2 separate regions of the Homo sapiens genome follow, and region 2 is linked to region 1. Evidence: promoter capture Hi-C in 16 types of primary human blood cells and fetal thymus (Javierre and others, 2016). All regions are on one chromosome and are shown on one strand. Each heading gives the region's core, a stretch centred on a gene start or on the middle of the fragment in contact. The rest is flanking DNA. Distances are from core to core; before and after follow the strand shown. Region 1 holds the start of TMEM150A (transmembrane protein 150A). Region 2 overlaps POLR1A (RNA polymerase I subunit A).

Region 1 (3,068 bases), core at 47-2,546:
TTAGAGCAAGGTTGTCTGCAGAGTCCTTCATACCAGTTCTCCACAGGGCATACATGGTGGTTCATCACAGCCATGGCATACCTGTGGGAACAGAACTGTCACCCTGGCAGCCTTCCCGAGCCCCACTCAACCCACCCCATGACCCTTCTCTTCAACCTTGATTTCTGGCCCCATTCAGCCTCATTATTGTTGCTGGGGACTCAAGTTGAGGTCCCTAAGGCTTGATGCCACACCAGCACCTGCAGCATGCCCCCAGCTACAGGCCCTCTGGAAATTGCCCTGGCTAGAAGTATATTTGTCAGGGCCACCCTGCTGGACAGCAGTGGTGCCAGCTTGTCCCAAGGGGCTGTGTGCCCAGGCACCAAGTCAGGCTTTTGAGACACCCAGAGTGACCCTGGGTACCACCGTGGCTATGACAGGACAAGAGACTTTGTGTGCGTCATCAAGCTCCTGTTGCCCCCCGGGCACCCCCCTTTACTCACACAGTCCATATGCCAGTGATGGAGAACGCTGACAGGCTGACAGGCAGGAGGATCCAGGCGGTCATGAGGGAGGGGAGCCAGGGTGGTGGTGGTGTTGGGGGGAGGACAAGAGGTAGATGGGGAAGTGGGGGCGGACCAGCTACCTTGAGATGTTTCTGCCACAACCATCAGCTGTCCTGGCCTGGTGGAGAGAGATCAAAGTCCAGGAGTGGGTAACTGGCCGGGAAGGGGGAGGGGAAGGGGGTCAACACCTTATCCAGCGCTCCCGTTGGGTCTCTGAGCGTCCAAAGTTTGGGCTGAGCCCACGGCAGAACGTGAACACCCTCTGGCACTGGGGGCCTCCGCGGTCAACCCAAATGCCACCGGCGTGCTGAGAGACGCAGGCGGACCGTAACATCTGGAAGGGAGTTACCCTCCTTCTGAGGGACCAGGGCTGGGAGAAGGGCTGGACAACCGAAGAGGCCACGCCAAGGAGAGGCTGGGTGCCGGCCCAGTGGAGCGGTGGCGAGTCGGCGGCGCGCAGGCAACCACCTGACCATCGGCGCCCTGGGCGAGGGGCGGGTTCACGCGGAAAGCCCAGCCCGGCCCGGCCCCCGCTCGCCTGGGCGCGGGGACCCCGGCTGGGGCCGGACCCTGCGGCCGGCGACCCCCCAGGACCCGGGACGCGAGAGTCCCCAGGTGATTCCTGGAAGCCCGGAGGAAGGGAAGGAGCCCAGTACGCACCTCCCCGGAGCGCCCCGCCGCCGCCGCACCCTGCTCGGCCCCCTCGTGGCGCCGACTCTAGCTGCGGCCCTCGGAGCAGCCCTGAAAGGTTTAAAGGGCCGAGCGGCCCCGCCCCTGGAGGCCCCAGGCCTCGCCGCGCCGCCCGCCGGGACGTGGAGTCCGCGCAGCCCCGGCCTCGGTGCCCGCGCCCTGCCCGAGACTACAACTCCCGAGCCCCCGCGCCCGCGTCACGGGGGAAACGTGGGCGGTGTCCCAACTTCGGAGGACCTGGGCGCGGAGGGCTGTGGCGTGAAGACCGCTCTAAAACCGAGATGACTAGAGGTTCCGTTTAACCGATTCCTGCCGGGGAAGCGTCAGCAGGTGGGGATCTCGGGGCAGCCTGCATTCCAGCTCTACCTGGGATTGTCGCCGTGCACATGGCTGGAGGAGCGTCTCTCCGCCACTGCGCACATTTTGCAGCCTGCACCGGCCAACGGTGAGTCCTCTAGGAAGCTCTCTCAACGTGGCGCCCCATGCCTGCCTCTGGCCAGGGCTGCGGTGGGTCCAGAGAAGCAGACACAAAGACTTGGCTGTTTCTTAAGAAATCCAAGCGCCTGGGATTTGGCTTATGGTTCCTGTGGCTCAGCAAACTCCGGAGGAGGGCTGCTTTCATTAGATACTTTTTGCTTTCCTGCATACAAGTACACAATGTACTAGCCAGAAATCAGTGTCCAAGACGTGTTTCCCGACTGATCAACACTTATTTGAAATAAGACGGCAGAGACCAGAGGACATCCATTCTAAATAGACACATGTAGGTGTCAGTGTAGAGTAGGTAAGGATTAACATGGCCAGTGTTGGTAAGCAAAGAGGGGAAGGTGAGAGACCCGGAGGAATCTGGGAAAAGGAAACAGGATAGTGTGGGAAAAATTACTGACCAGCTTCACCAAAAACTTACAGGCTATGAGTGCATTCCTGGATGTTTCTTTTTTTTTTACTTTTTCTTTTTCTTTTTTTTTTTTTTGAGACGGAGTCTCGCTCTGTCGCCCAGGCTGGAGTGCAGTGGCGCGATCTCGGCTCACTGTAAGCTCCGCCTCACGGGTTCACGCCATTCTCCTGCCTCAGCCTCCCGAGTAGCTGGGAACTACAGGCGCCCGCCACCTCACCCGGCTAATTTTTTTGTATTTTTAGTAGAGACGGGGTTTCACCATGTTAGCCAGGATGGTCTCGATCTCCTGACCTCGTGATCCGCCCGCCTCGGCCTCCCAAAGTGCTGGGATTACAGGCGTGGGCCACTGCGCCTGGCCCGGATGTTTCTTAAATTATTGCAAGGGTGGAAATACTTTCACATATCAGAAGTGTGCCTGGCATTCTGTCTCAAAGGCGGTCCCAGCATCTGTTGGAGCCCTTGTGAGATGACAGATCATCACCTGAATGGTGCACAGGCGCAGGTTGCCCAGCGTGGGGAGCTGAAGTTTGGCAACACTGGTGAGGCAAAGGCTATGTGAAACAACAGGGTCCTGTGCTTTAGAGAAGTAGAGCAGAATAAACTGCACAATGACTTGAAGAGGGAGAAACCTTCTTGGACCCAGTGGAAAGCAGAAATGGAAGCAGAAAACCTGTTGGAGAGCCCTTTTTCTTTTGAGACAGAGTTTCACTTGTTGCCCAGGCTGGAATGCAATGGTGCAATCTCGGCTCACTGTTACCTCTGCCTCCTGTGTTCAAGTGATTCTTGTGCCTCAGCCTCCCGAGTAGCTGGGATTACAGGTGCCTGCCACCATGCCCAGCTAATTTTTTTATATTTTTAGTAGAGACGGGGTTTCACCATGTTGGTCAGGCTGCTCTTGAACTCCTGACCTCAGGTGATCCGCTCGCCTTGGCCTC
Region 2 (2,700 bases), core at 1-2,500, 480 kb after region 1:
CCACCTTGTGATGGGCCTGGCAGACAGCGGGACTGTCGCAGCGGCTGGAGTCTGAGAACCCGGACTGTCTACCCAAGGCTGCCTATTTGCATCCAGAGAGTACTTTAGAGCTGGGAAGGATCTTGATGACCTCAGCAAGCTTCCTGGGTGCCCAATTCACCTTTGTACCCACTGAACACCTACTAATTAACCCGGCACACAGATGGGGCTCAGGAAATGTTAGTTGAAACTGTCCTATTCTGAGAGGAATTTCCACTCTGCAATACTGCCTTCCTGACCCCAATGCTGGAGACATTAACGTGTCCAAAATAGAGCTGGCAACATGAGCTCTAGTACTGTGACCCAAAAGGGACACTCTTAAAGCCTGAGGGAAGTAGGCTATTCTTTCTAGAGCTGCGAGAGCTGGTAGCCCGGAACAGCCTAGGTGTGAAATCTCACCACAAATCACATGCACTTTATAGCAGACACTAGTATAAGGAAGTGACTCAACTAGGGTCACCTGGCATGGTCGTTCGGTGTAGAAGCTAGACCAGAACCCACACCTTTCCATGCTCAGACCCATGTGTGTCCCCCTAATGTTCCTAGGTGCCCCCTAAGCCCAGAGCTCACACTAAGGCTGCTGCCAGCTGCACAGAACATCCCAGGAAGCATCTCCCAGACCCAGTGTCTACATCCACAGCTCACAGAGTTAGCACTAAGCATGTGTGCTCATCACATCAGCAACAGAGCAGCCCTGACCTCATCTGTAGTGGGTGTGGCCACTTCCTCTGGCAACTTCTGTTCTTGGGCCATCAATGCCAGAAGTTTTCGAATCAGAACTACATCCTTCATGACAGCCTGCAAGTTCACCGTCTGGCCATTAGTAAACATCTGGTCTCCTAGGCGACTGACTGGGCGATACCTGCAGGGGGACATACGGAATAAATGAATGTTTAGTGTGAGGAAAGGGTCATGTTCTTCAGCCTCTCACCCATGCCTACTGTAGGGAGCACACCCCACCATGCTCAAAACAACCAACCTTCCTAACCAACATTCCGGCTGGGTGTGGTGGCTTAAGCCTGTAATCCCAGTACTTTGGGAAGCCATGGCAGGTGGATCACTGGAGGTCAGGAGTTCGAGACCAGCCTGGCCAACATGGTGAAACCCCATCTCTATGTAAAATACAAAAATTATTTGGGTGTGGTGGTGCGTGCCTGTAATCCCAGCTACTCAGGAGGCTGAGGTAGGAGAATCACTTGAACCCAGGAGGCAGAGGTTGCAGTAAGTCAAGGTCATGCCACTGCACTCCAGCCTGGGAGACAGTGCAAGACTCCACTTCAAAACAAACAAACAAAAACAACCAACATTCCTATTGCGTTCACAACAAACGGGAAGGAAAGCAAGCCCTCCCACCACCTGCACCTGGAGCGGAACTGCAGCTTTGTCTCTCAGTGCCCTTGGCCCTTTCACCTCTCCTAGAGGTCACATTTCAGTTCCTTAGTACGCTTTTTTTCAGGTGAAATAAGTTAATTAAAGGGTATTACCTTGAGGGCGGCACCACCAAGAAATCTAGAAAGAACACACTGGGATTGAATCTGGATTCCATACCATCATCATCCATTCCCGAAAAAAGGTAGTTCAGAAAGAATCCTGCGTTGGAAAGAAATAAACCAAGAAGACCATTTAAATCTATCACTAAGGGCATGGGAGGACAACCATAAAAATATTACTGAGTGAGGAAAAAACAGAATACAAGATAATATGTAGAGTTAAGGTCACAGTTTTCTTTTTTGAGAAAAGGTCTCACTCCTGTCGCCCAGGCTGCTGTGCAGTGGTGCGATCATGACTCACTGCAGCCTTGATCTCCCAGGCTTAGGCAATCCTGCCACCTCAGCCTTCCAAGTAGTTGGGACTACAGGTGCGTGCTATCATGTCCAGCTAATTTTTGTATTTTTTTTTTTAAGAGATGAGGTTTTGCTTGGTTGCCCAGGCTGGTCTCGAACTCCTGGGCTCAATTGATCCACCTGCCTCAGCCTCCCATATTGCTGTGATTGGAGGCATGAGCCAACGTGCCTGGCCTCATTTTTCTTTATAAAAACAAAAAATAGCCCCTGTGTACATGACAGTTTGTATGCAGGGGATATGATAGCATAAAAATGGGTACTACAGGGACAATAGCTCTTAAACCAGGGACTGAGATGGGCAAGGATGGGGAAGAAACTTCACTTGTTTTTAATCACCCTCCTGGACTATTAAAACACAGACAGCACACACATCATTACTTTGATCTTCATAAAAAATATGTTGAATAAAAAAATTTTTTTTTAAGTTAGCCTCCTCCCACCCCTAACAGTTACTGCCAAGAAAGGATCTTCTGTGGATCAAAGCTTTATTTCAGGTTTCTGGTTACTTTAAAAAATGCCTAGAGAAAAAGATTAAAATGTACTAGGGCCTGCCACAGAAGCAATCATACTAACTCCAGTGCTTTTTTTTTTTTCTGATACCTCTTTAACAACATGTTCATTTGTAAGCGCTTATTACACAGAGGTTATAGTCAGCGTTCCACAACATACTCTCACAAGGGCTTGAATATACTGCGTAGGTTTTGTTATACACTCAAAAGGAAAGAAGGATTTCCCTTATAGTAAAGTCCCAATTTAAATAAGACAGAGTTCATTCTTTGATTCACAGAAGGACAAAGCATTTTACTTACGGGCATTT

What was found. The method cuts DNA at HindIII sites, captures the fragments that hold promoters and counts their contacts. A CHiCAGO score of 5 or more calls a contact.
Region 2: a fragment that was not itself captured here is called in contact with the fragment with the promoter of TMEM150A in region 1 in 4 of 17 cell types (monocytes, fetal thymus, erythroblasts and 1 more); the score reaches 7.6 in monocytes.

Annotation. Positions count from the first base shown.
Region 1 is chr2:85,601,402-85,604,469 of GRCh38, forward strand. It overlaps TMEM150A (transmembrane protein 150A), which reads right to left and starts at 1,297. Exons shown (of 8, transcript NM_001031738.3): 1 at 1,206-1,297; 2 at 483-663; 3 at 34-81. The coding sequence starts at 547. It also overlaps a transcript of USP39 not described here. RefSeq lists silencers at 767-826, 927-1,506. The HindIII fragment of the contact is 3,378 bases long and covers 1-3,068 here.
Region 2 is chr2:86,080,078-86,082,777 of GRCh38, forward strand. It overlaps POLR1A (RNA polymerase I subunit A), which reads right to left. Exons shown (of 34, transcript NM_015425.6): 8 at 1,524-1,629; 9 at 739-901. Among named protein-coding and RNA genes, the nearest start is that of POLR1A, 24 kb to the right of the region's middle. The HindIII fragment of the contact is 2,227 bases long and covers 138-2,364 here.